2 separate regions of the Homo sapiens genome follow, and region 2 is linked to region 1. Evidence: promoter capture Hi-C in human tissues and cell types (Jung and others, 2019). All regions are on one chromosome and are shown on one strand. Each heading gives the region's core, a stretch centred on a gene start or on the middle of the fragment in contact. The rest is flanking DNA. Distances are from core to core; before and after follow the strand shown. Region 1 holds the start of SLC2A1 (solute carrier family 2 member 1). Region 2 holds the start of ST3GAL3 (ST3 beta-galactoside alpha-2,3-sialyltransferase 3).

Region 1 (5,913 bases), core at 1,968-4,467:
AAGCCTGCAGATTTCTGATTTTTCCTTTTCTGGAAGGTAGAGACTGGCCAGAAAAGTGATGAGTGATGGGCATAGGCAAGGCTAGTTACAAGTTCTTCACGAAGGGTGGGGTGAGACATCTGGGGCAGGGCTCACCCTTGCGTGCTGCCCAGGAGAGATCGTGGGCGAACCCCTGGCTTGTAGGCAAGGTGATTCCATCTGTCCCCTACTTCCTATTCAGCTAAGCTCATTACTGTGAGTTACAGAGGAGCACAATGGAACACGGGGAAGTTAGTTAAGTCAGTTCCCATTTCCTAGGAGACAAAGAGGAACATAGCAGAACCAAGGCTTTGGAGCCAGACACACCTGGTTTTCAGATCTTGTGTGAAAGGCAAGCGATATGACCTCCCCAGGCCTCTAACATCATGCACAAAAAGGCTGTGCTTGCAGGTCAAATCAGCAGTCTCCAAAGGGAAGGGCTTTATTCCAGAATGTATATGGAATGATCTACACAAGATTTGGAGGGGAAAATGACTATAACTGCTGTCTTGTATCTATCTGTCTTTTGAAATTTCTATTTTATGAAGGCATATCATCTGTTAGTATCAAACTGCATGTGCATGAATTTAAAAATACAGCCGGGCGTGGTGGCTCACGCCTGTAATCCCAGGCCTGTAATCCCAGCACTTTGGGAGGCCGAGGCGGGCAGATCATCTGAGGTCGGGAGTTCGAGACCAGCCTGACCAACATGGAGAAACCCCGTCTCTACTAAAACTACAAAAAAAAAAAAAAAAAAAAAAAAAACATTAGCTGGGTGTGGTGGCACATGCCTGTAATTCCAGCTACTCGGGAGGCTGAGGCAGAAGAAACGCTTGAACCCGGGAGGCAGAGGTTGCAGGGAGTTGAGATCGCGCCATTGCACTCCAGCCTGGGCAACAAAAGCGAAACTCCGTCTCAAAAAATAAATAAATAAAAATAAAAAAATAAAAATACAGATACACCACTGTGAAAGAGGTGTTCCAACATTAATTACTGACGAGGTAGACAGTGGAAAACTTGGAGAACACTCCATGAAGAGCACCCACCTGCTACACTATTTAGAACCAGCTGGCACAAGGGGCCACCTTTGAAGATAGGCAAACTCTCTCCCTTCTGCCCAAAATTCAAGAAATGTTGTGGTGAAGAGAGACAGTGGAGACAGAAATGAAATTAAATCTGATGGGCCTGGGTTCAAATCCAGTTCAACCACTTACTAGCTGTGTGACTTTGGCAAACTTATTTCCCTTCTCTGAGCTCCAGGCTAGTGAGTAACCAGCAGGGCTATAAGGTCCGTGACGCTTAAAGTAGTTTGGCTAAGAACCTGCTGATTTTCTCCTCCACTTTTCTGTCTCCACGTAGTATTCCCTTATCCACTCAACAAATAAATACCCATGTCTGGCATAGTATGCTGAATAGATAGTTCCTTCCCTAGAGGAAGTGACAAAAGTGATCTCTTTCAGATGGAAAAACTGAGGCCCAGAAGTTAAGTGGCCTGCAAGAGCCCTGAGATATTTGGACTTCCTTGCCACTAGCTAGAAGAGCTTCTCACTGAACTTTTGTTTAGTTATATCCCACCCTTACGGCTCACCTAAGATCCTGGGAGCCTTCCCCGGGAACTTCCCCGGGGTCTCACCTCAAGCGAGGGCCCAGGAAGGGTGAACCAAGTCGTCTGGATTTATGGATTCAACAGGTGTGGGGCGGAAGGCCTTTTCCTGCCGAGGGTGCGGCCCAGCGCCACCCCGCTCAGTCTCAGCGGGACACCTCCACAGCCAGTAGGAAGGGCAGTTCAAAATTCAGTGCTACCCCCGCGTCCCAGCTAAGAAAACAAGGGCCATCCAGGTGCCCTCCCAGCTGACGAGATGGAAAAATCAAAGTATAATAGATAAAGAGGGACCGTTTCAAAAGAAAAAGGGGACTTGAAAATATTGTAGACTAGGGGGAGGAAAGGAGGTGGAAAGAAACAATGCCCTACACACAGGAGGGGCTCCACAAACAATTTGTTGAAAAGAAATCGCTCTGCGGACGCTACAAAGATGCCCTGCAGGACAAGCCCACTTACACAGAAAAAAAGAAATCCTATCTAGGGAGTTGTTGGTCCCCAGAGTCCCCATCCCTCATTCCCCAACCCCGTGGCGTGCGCGCTTCCCGCTAGACTTCAGCCTGGGGCTCTTTCCTGGCCCCCAGATCCCCCGCCCCTCCGGTTGCGCTCCCCGCCTGGCCCCGAGGGTAAACCTGCCTCCGCGGAACACATCTCCGCGAGACTGGGCCAAAGCTTTGGGGCCTGCACTCCTCGCAAAGGAGAGCCTCCGAGACCGGAGGTTCATCTCAACCCCCGCGTTCGAGCCCGGGCCTGGAGAAAAGTGCCCTCCCCTCGGCCTCGGCCTCGTCACCGCGGGGGACTGGCGGGAGGAGTAGGGGAGGCCGGTGGGACACCTCGCACCAGGCCGCCCACCTACAGGGGCGTCCGGGCTAGGGGAGCAGACGGAGAGCGGGGGCGGCTCCTGACTCCTCCGCGCGCCGGGGCCGGGGCCGGGCCGGGGGCTCGGCCCGCTCAGCCAATGGGCGCCGCGCTCGGGCCCCCTCCCCCGCACCGGGAGGGGCCGAGGCTGGGCTGCTGCTGCCGAGGTCGTGTGCGACGTGCCGCTCCCGGGCCCTGTGTCCCCAGCCCCAGCAGGGCCGCGTGGACGGCGCGGCGCCCCCGGAAGGAGGCCATGTGCTCAGTGCCGGCGCCAACTACGCACGCGGCGCCCTCCGGCCCGCTAGATCCGAAGCCCATCCCCACTGCGGCCAGCGGCCCGGCGGGGCGCTGCGCTCGGGACCCGCACCGAGCCAGGCTCGGAGAGGCGCGCGGCCCGCCCCGGGCGCACAGCGCAGCGGGGCGGCGGGGGAGGCCCTGGCCGGCGTAAGGCGGGCAGGAGTCTGCGCCTTTGTTCCTGGCGGGAGGGCCCGCGGGCGCGCGACTCACCTTGCTGCTGGGCTCCATGGCAGCGCTGCGCTGGTGGCTCTGGCTGCGCCGGGTACGCGGGTGGCGACGGGCGTGCGAGCGGCGCTCTCCCGCTCAGGCTCGTGCTCCGGTCCGGGGACTCCCACTGCGACTCTGACTCCGACCCCCGTCGTTTGGTCTCCTGCTCCCTGGCGTGCTCACTCGGGGACCCGCGACTAGCGACCGGCACGCTCGCTGTTGCTACCTCTTGCCTCTTGCCAGAGAGCGCGCGGACCGTAGCGTTTATAGGACCCCGGCCATTGGCTGGCGACGCCGGTGTGTCAGGGGTGTGTGGGCAGGACCTCGGGGCGGGGCCTGGGGCCCAGCCTGTCCTGGGCGGCGCTCTGCGGGGAGGGGGTGAGGGGAGTGGCCGGGGCCGGGGCCCCCCCTAACCACTGCCTCGCTCAGGCTGCCGATCGGCTCGTTCTCTCTGCGTTGGGACCGCGGAGGGCATTCGCTGTGTGACTCAGGGCAAGTGTGCGCACCTCTCTGAGCCTCCGCGGCCTTCTCTAGCAAAATGGTGGAGCCGGTACCCGGCTGTAAGGCAAGCTGGGATGCGCGGAGTAGCGGGTGGAAAGCTGGACTGGAGTTCTCACTCGGCCGCTGGGTGACTTCGGTGCACTAGGGATAGTAACAGTACCACCTCGTAGGGTTGTAGAAAGACCAAGTGAGTTAATATTTGTAAAGTGTTTAGAACAGCGTCTACTGCATGGAAAGTAGTATTTATTTGTTAGAGAGACTCCAGGAGGTCTTGCCCAGGGATTGACTTCTCCCTTCCCTGTCTCCACCCCCCACATTCCCGTTTGTGAGCCAAGCCTTGCTTTTGCACCGGCCGGGCTCTCTTGCCTGGAAATGCATACCCATCTCAAACCTGGGCTTTAAAATCACCTCCTCTGGGACGCCTTCCTCTACTTCTCACAGTTCAGGTGAGTCTATGGTGACCTGTAAGTGTGGAAAATATGAAAGGCAGGCTAACTGACTGACATGATAGGACATTAAGGACATGATAGACCTCGGGTTTGAACCAGCTCAACTGTATACTGGCCCGGCCGCGATCCTGGGCGAGTTCCTGGCCAGTGAGGCTGTTTTCGTTTTTTTCTTTAATTTTTTTTTTTCTCAGACAGAGTCTCGCTCTGTCGCCCAGGCTGGAGTGCAGCGGCACGATCTCGGCTCACTGTAACCTCCGCCTCCCGGATTCAAGCAGTTCTCTGCCTCAGCCTCCCGAGTAGCTGGGATTACAGGCGCCCGCTATCACCCCTGGCTAATTATTTTTATTTTTAGTAGAGACGGGGTTTCACCATTTTGGCCAGGCTGGTCTTGAACTCTTGACCTCGTGATCCACCCACCTCGCCTCCCAAAGTACTGGGATTACAGGCGTGAGCCACTGAGCCCGGCCGAGGCTGTCTTCTTATGAGTAAATGGAATTCCCACACCAATCTCATTGCTATCAGGAGAGGTGCAATTTCCAGATAAGCTCATGAAGTGTTTAGCATGGAAGTTCTCATTTACTGGTTGGTGGTATTGTTGGTTTATTTATTTAGTCTGTTAGTAAATAAATAAATGCTGGTCTCAAACTCCTGGGCTCAAGTGATCCTCCCACCTTAGCCTCCGTAGTAGCTGGGAGTGCAGGCATGTGCCACTGCACTGGTAGTGGTATTGCTATCATCTGACTTCACCTTATTTCCTCTAGACCAGTGCCTTACTTGAGACACAGTGAAGGGAAGGACCCCCAGTCCAAAGGTCTGATCAAAGTCTTGAGGGTCCCTTTCCCGATGGAGGGAGTCATGGTGGGCTTACTGTCTGTCGGAAACCGGGAGGCTGAGCCGACCAGATGACCCCTGGAGTTCTCTGGCAATGTGTCCAGTTCTGGCTGAGGGGCACCTTGGTTGAGTATGGAGCCCTGAAACAGAAGGCAGGTGCATTCTGGGCACCCCCCTGCCCAAGGCTTCAATTCCTGTGGTCTCTCTATGCTCAGCCTGGAAAGCTTGGGCCACCTCTCTCCTCACCCCTGGACAGACCAAGTCCTGCTGACTCCGCTGTCTACACCACCTCATCCTCCTTCCCTCCCCTGCTGTCTGCAGGGCCTCCATCTCCTCTGGTCTTTTGTCCTCCAGTCCTGCACCCTGCCACTCTCCTGCTCATCTGTCTGAAATTGTCATGGAGGGAGTAAGGGCCAAGCCTGGCCATCACGGTCCTTCTTCATGGCACCAGTTTACACGCTCAGCCTCGCCCCTCACACCAGCAACTCACATCCACACATTTGCTCAGCTTGTCTCCTCTGCCTGGGAAGCCCTCCCCGACCTCACCATGCCAAAAAGCACCATGGGTCCTTCCTCCTCCGGGAAGTGTCCCTGGTTCTCCCAAGTGGAAATCTTTCTCTCCTTTACCATTTGGTGTTTTGTAGGTTGCCACTTGTCCTCTGTCTGCCTTCCCTCAGCCTGTGAGCACCTTGAGGACAGGTTCTGCAGCTGAGGCACGTGGGTGAATGACTGAAGGAGGGAAGGAATGCACGAATGAGTGAGCAGCTAATCTACCTGTGTTGAATGTTCCTTCCCCTCCAGTCCGTCCTGCTGATACTTCCAGTCTTTCCTTAAGTACCTTTTGGGTTTTGCTACTTCCCTCCTCAAAGTCTCTCCACAGCTCCTTGTTTCTTAGCACATCCAGTCTATGCCTTTTCCCAGTTGCGGGTCTGCCTTACTCAGCCCATGGGTCACACTCACCAAACAGCCACCTTGTCCTTCTCTGGGCCAGCCCCATGCTGGCCACTTTCCCAGGGACAGAGACATGTGACCCCATTGTTAGCCTCATGGAGGCCCCAAGCTGGAGGAGGAGCAAGAGGGGAAATGAGCAGCAACAATACCAAGTCAAGCGTAGAGGGTTAAGAATCTGTACAGGTGCAGAACTTGTACCAC
Region 2 (5,913 bases), core at 2,066-4,565, 750 kb after region 1:
CGCAGGAATGAAAAAGGAGTGGGAGGGCTGCAAAGTGTACGTGGGGCTTGGAGGCCTTGTGCCACGCGCGGACTAAAAATGTTCTACGAGTCTCTTAACGCTCACCCCCGTGCCCCCTTACCCACCAGGGCCCACGGAGGTCCGAAGCTTTCGGCCTCAGTGAGCGGAATGGGTGCGCTCACGACCTGGAGGGCGAGATGAGATGTCCCTCGGCGTGAAGTGGCCGTGACTACCCTAGCACTTTGCGTTCCCCGCGCGGGCGACGAAACACGCTCTCGAGGGGAGAGAGCCGTGCGTCCTCTGGGCCGTGAAGCCAGGGGAAGAGGGTTCCTCTAGACAGCTCGATGTGCCCGGGAGAGACACCCACGCTGAACCTGCAAGCTGGGGTGCTCCACCAGCGCGAACCTCTCGCCCCGCACTCGCCGCAGCACTGCTCTCGTGGTAGGCGGGGTGGGCGGGACGGCAAATCCGCGGCTCCTGCGTCTATTGGGCTGCTCGGGGCAGCGCAGCTCCGCATTGGCCAGGCCCTCGCTCCGCCCGGCTTCCGCGAGCCCATTGGTCGCAGGCGCCCGACCGGGTCGCGGCCGCGCGCTCCGCCCGCCGCTGCGTCCCCACTATGGCGGCGCCCATGCAGCCCAGCGCGTTGTGGGCTCCCGCCGGGGTCCCCCGCGGCTGTCGCCGCCGCCTACGCCGCTGCCTCCGCCTTCCTGCCCCGCGTCGGGCCGGGCGCCACCTCCCCCCTGCCTCCCTCTCCGCTGTGGTAAGGGCCTGCCCAGTGCGCTTCGGGGCGCGATGGCTGACCGCGAATAACGGTCGCCGCTCCGCCCCGCCCCTCCCCCGCCGGCCGCGGGTCCCGGGCTGGGCGGGGCGCGGAGCCCGCGCGCTAGTGCCCGGGAAGGCGGGGTCGGGGCACGGCCCAGTCGTCCTTCGGGCTGGGGGCCCAGTACCTGGATGACCTCTCCTGGGTGGGGGCCGCCGAGCCTGGGGGAAAGGCCGGCCGGACGCAGGCCAGGAGGTCTGAGATCATCTCCGTGTGAAACCCCGCAGCGCTGCGCACCTTGGCGCAGAGCACGGACACCGTCATTCGGGCCCTGCTGTGGGAAAAGGAAAGAAAAGTCCAGGGAGCGCCTGAGCGGGAATCGGCAGCGTTTGGGTAGCGGTTGTCATTGCTTACTGCTCTAGCGGGGGCCAGAACTGGGGTCAGTTTGATCGGCAAAGTACGCCTCTCTTGCTTCCTTTCCTTCTGGCACTTTCCCCCGTTGTGTCCTCGGTGCTTTTGCTTGCAAGAGAAAATATCTTAGTGAGGAGGGCAGGTTTGGTTAGGAGAGTGTCCCATGAACATTTTGGATTCCTTTTTACAACAATGTCCATTTTTATGATTCCTCAGTAAGCCTCATTTATGTTTCCTTCACGTATGAGGAAGGAGTGAAACCTGATAACTGAATGTAATTAATTGAGGGAAGGACCAGTGAAGGCGGCTATTACCTCAGAAAGTAAAATACTCAAACTTTTCAGTGGATGTACTGTGAATTATAGATAGCTGGACATTAAGGTAGGAAAAAACTCTTATTAGGTTACTAAAAGTAAGATAGTCCCCATGACAAATTAGGTTGTTTCTAAGGCAGAATTATCTTGTAGAGATGATCACTGAAATGTTTGGTGTACTTTCAAGTCAACAGAGGATTAAAAGGAAGCTGGCACAGAAATTTATAGCCAAATGATACTTTCAAATAATCTCTTAAGGCAATACAGCTCCTCCTATGATTAGAGATTCTTAAGGATATTTTGAGATATTAAGTGGTGAATCTCTCCATTTCGCGTGTCTAACTGTCTAACCATGGTTTAATAAAAATAAAATGTTAACGATGAAACAAGACATTCATGTTCTCAGAGACTAACAGACTTTGTATCAATCAATGGAACGCCTCTTGAGTACATATTTTATGCAAGGCATTGACTGAGGGGAAACTCAAAACCATTTAAGATAAGAAACTTGCTCTAATGGGCCTATAATATACTTGAGGGAATAAAGCACACACATGACAATGATAACTGTGATATGGTCTCTAGAATTCCAAGATGGTAGGTACTCTGAGAAACCGAGAAAAGGAGAAATCCATGTGTTTGAGGAAGGTTTCACAGGGAAGCTGAGGCTTGAATTGGGTCATGAAGAGTGGGTAGCCGGCTGTATGAAGGGGAAGAAGTGAGCAGATGAGAAAGTGAGGATGACAAAGGTGCAGGGGAACCTGAGATGCTCATGGGTGGTTCCAGGGGGTTTCTTAGCAGAAAAAGCAGGATATGAGGTTGCACAAAAGGTAGGTTGATGGCATTAATCCAAGAGGTACCTTTGTCCTGTGTGGTGCAAAGAGTAAACAAGTAATAGAATTTACTTCAAAGGAAGCTGTAGCTAACTATCAGGAATACAGTAACACTTTACTTGTCATTGTCACTTTTTCTTTTTTCTTTTTTTTTTGAGACAGGGTCTCCCTCTGTCACCCATGCTGGAGTGCAGTGAATGTGGCTCTCTGCAGCCTTGACTTTCTGGACTCAGGCGATCCTCCCACCTCAGCTTCCCAAGTAGCTGGGACCACAGGCAGGTGACCTGGAGAATTAAAAAAAATTTTTTTTGTAGAGACAGGGTCTTGTCATGTTGCCCAGGCTGTTCTTGAACTCCTGGGCTCAAGAAATCTTCCCACCTTGAGTTCGAGACCAGCCTAGCCAACATGATGAAACCCCGTCTCTACCAAAAAAAAAATACAAAAAATTAGCCAGGCGTGGTGGCAGGCGCCTGTAATCCCAGCTGCTCGGGAGGCTGAGGCAGGAGAATCGCTTGAACCCGGGAGGTGGAGGTTGCAATGAGCCGAGATCGCGCCAGTGCACTCCAGACTGGGCAACAAGCGTGAAACTCGGTCAAAAAAAAGAAAGAAAGAAATCCTCCACCTCAGCCTCCCAAAGTGTTGAGAATATATGCGTGAGCCACCACACCTAGCCCATTGTCGCTTTTCTGATTCACCTCAGCTACTTGGAATAACAGTTCTCTCAACCCAGAAGCGGCACCTCAAGTTTATTCTTACTTTTCTTCTTTTTTTCTCCCCGTGTTTTTGGTTGGGTGCCAGGTCTTGTTGACCCTACTTCCACACTGTTTCTGGCATCTGCTTCTATTTTTGAGTCAGAGCCTCCCTCTGTTGCCCAGGCTGGAGTGCAGTGGCCCCATCTCAGCCCACTGCAACCTCCACCACCTGGGTTAAAGTAATTCTCCCGTCTCAGCCTCCTGAGTAGCTGGGACGACAGGCGTGTGCCACCACACCCGGCTAATTTTTGTATTTTTAATAGAGACGGGGTTTCACCATGTTGGCCAGGCTGATCTTGAACTCCTGATCTCAAGTGATCTGCCCACCTTAGCCTCCCAAAGTGCTGGGATTATAGGCATGAGCCACCATACCTAGCCTGGCATCTGCTTCTTTTCACTCCTACTGTCATCACACTGATCTGGGGCCATTGGACCATTCCTGTGAATTACCACAGAAACCCCCTAACATTTTTTTCCTTCCATCCATCATGTGTATTGCCATCACTTCCAAGTTTGTCACTTCTCCAGCCAGGACTTTGAATGGCTCCCCATTATCTGTTGCGTTAGGCACAGACCAGCCTGGCATGGGCAATATGGGCAAACTGATTTCTTGCCATTCTGTTATATTTTCCAGGTCAATGGAACTATTTGCTCTTTGTGCTTTGCTGTTTGTGCTCTGTATCTTTGCTCATGTTGGCTTTTTCTATCTTAAATAGTCTCCTTGACTTTAATTGTTCTTACGTATGTTTCAGGGCCATTTGATACGGAACTTCCTTTGTGAAGCTTATCTGTACTTTTTCTTCCCATCTAGATGAGCTGTCTCTCTTCTTTAAGTTTAAACCACCATAACATTAGAGTCTGCCTTTTTGCGATAATTGCCTTAAATCCTGCTTCTACCCACAGTATAAGACTGAAGCTATTTCAAGACATAGACTGTCCTCTTCATCATCCAACTTTGTACATAGTAGGTACTTGGCAAATATATTTTATATTGAAAATAGCTTTGAATCAGGATGGATGCAGAGATAATTCTTTATCCAAACAAAATGTTTATCATTAAAATCTATAAATAAAGTTGTTTATGTGAGAGAATCCCTTACTGAGAGATCTGTATTGACATAGATAGCTTGGATTAGGCTGCACTAACAAAAACCTCAAGACTTCAGTGGCGTAACAGAACAAAACTTGACTTCTCATTCATGTGACGTGTCCAGCATGAGTGTACAGGAAACTCTTCACAGTTACTCAGGAACTGAGGCTGATAGAAACTCCATCTTAATATGGTACTGCCATGACCATTTTGATTAAATGAAAAGATAGTGGTCAAGTGGACACTGGCTTTTCAAGTTTCTGTCCCACTATGGCACATGCCACTTTCATTCACATTTTCATTGGCCAAAGCAAGTCACATAGCCATGCCTAACTTTAAAGAAGGTTAGAGAATTTCAGTGTTAGCATATGTCTGGGAAGCAAAGAGCCAGAAATATTTGGTGCATAGCACTAATGACTACTACCTCATCTGGGGTATCACAGCCCATTGAAGATTAGAGGTAGCACATCAGATGGGCTGCTAGAGACAAACATTGACAGTAGCAAGAAATAATAGCTCTAACCAGGCATGGGGTAATGGTAGATTCAGAGTCAAAACTCTTCCAAGCACTTGTAAATGCTCACAGGCCAAGGGTGTTGATACAAGGGCAATCTGTTACATCCGAGTTATGACACAGTCATTCCTGAGGAATGTCTTTTACAAAACTTACTATGTTACAGCATTCTTAGTAACAAATACAGCAATGGTTCTGAGATAGCAAAAAATAAAAGTTAAATTATATTCAGGGTATTCAATTTATAAGAAATTGGGAAATGTGTAATAATTTTAGGTGCATTTTCACTCAAATGGTTAAAATTAAAAAGTAATCTTAGTTTAACCTTACTGGTTTAATTGAACCTAGCAAACTTGGTATTTGGGGAGGAGGTTTCACTTTTGACAGACAATAGAAACAGTGCTGGTTGGAGCCCTGGTTCAGGAAACAGATTTGGGTTCAGATCTTGGCTCTTCCACTATTAATAGTTGTCTGACATTAAGCAGGAATCTTATTTTTGAGCCTAAGTTTCCTCATCAGTGAAATGCATGGGGCAGTTGTGAGAATTAAACAAGTCAGTTCATGTAAAGTGCTTTGCAGAGCACGTGGTTCACAGTAAGCACTCATGATCACAGTGCTTCTAACCAGCTGCAGCAAGGTTAGAAGAAACTTGAGAAATCAGGTAAGGAGCCCTCAGAAATACAGGTAGAAGGGTTCCCCTGGATTTCCCCACCTTTTTTCTCCCTTGGACAGCATCCCTACGATCTCTTATTTTCACATTTTTCATATTTTATGTGAGTGTATACATTTCTTTCTCTCCTACTAGACCAGGTGCTCTCATCATCCACAAATGTGTACTGAACATAAGCTCTGCCAGGCTCTGTGCTAGGTGGTGGCTTGATAGGTATGAAGGACATGTCCCTGGCCTCAAAGAACCTCCAGTCTAGTAGGACCAGAAGCAAGTAAAGAATACATTATAACCAGAAGCAGAATACATTATAACAAGGGCTGTGGTTGAGGGTCTTGTGGGATCTTCTAAAAGCGCACCTGATATCGTGGGGAATATGAGTACTGGTTTTCTAGGGAAGTTCACATCTGACCTACATCTTGAAAAATCAGTAGTTATTAGCTGGGTGGATATGGGTTTAAAAGGCTTTTCACACAGGCAACAATGTGTGCTGTGGCCTAGAAGCAAAGAATGTGGCTACATCCTAAAGACACTGGTGTGGCAGGAGTATGGAGCCTGTTGGGGGAGTGTGT

What was found. Contacts are between HindIII fragments. The study calls those that stand out against the background at their distance.
Region 2: a fragment that was not itself captured here is called in contact with the fragment with the promoter of SLC2A1 in region 1 in 1 of the 25 tissues and cell types used here (spleen).

What each region holds. Positions count from the first base shown.
Region 1 is chr1:42,955,651-42,961,563 of GRCh38, forward strand. It overlaps SLC2A1 (solute carrier family 2 member 1), which reads right to left and starts at 3,218. Exons shown (of 10, transcript NM_006516.4): 1 at 2,984-3,218. The coding sequence starts at 3,001. It overlaps SLC2A1-DT (SLC2A1 divergent transcript), which reads left to right and starts at 3,399. Exons shown (of 4, transcript NR_033967.1): 1 at 3,399-3,927. RefSeq lists an enhancer at 1-61 and silencers at 2,339-2,978, 3,109-3,518, 3,391-3,574. The HindIII fragment of the contact is 6,533 bases long and covers 1-5,687 here.
Region 2 is chr1:43,706,934-43,712,846 of GRCh38, forward strand. It overlaps ST3GAL3 (ST3 beta-galactoside alpha-2,3-sialyltransferase 3), which reads left to right and starts at 603. Exons shown (of 12, transcript NM_006279.5): 1 at 603-760. ST3GAL3-AS1 (ST3GAL3 antisense RNA 1) reads right to left here. Exons shown (of 4, transcript NR_125986.1): 4 at 2,459-2,602. It overlaps KDM4A-AS1 (KDM4A antisense RNA 1), which reads right to left and starts at 408. Exons shown (of 5, transcript NR_033827.1): 1 at 126-408. RefSeq lists enhancers at 38-555, 281-360 and silencers at 491-990, 1,021-1,070. The HindIII fragment of the contact is 7,412 bases long and covers 1-5,913 here.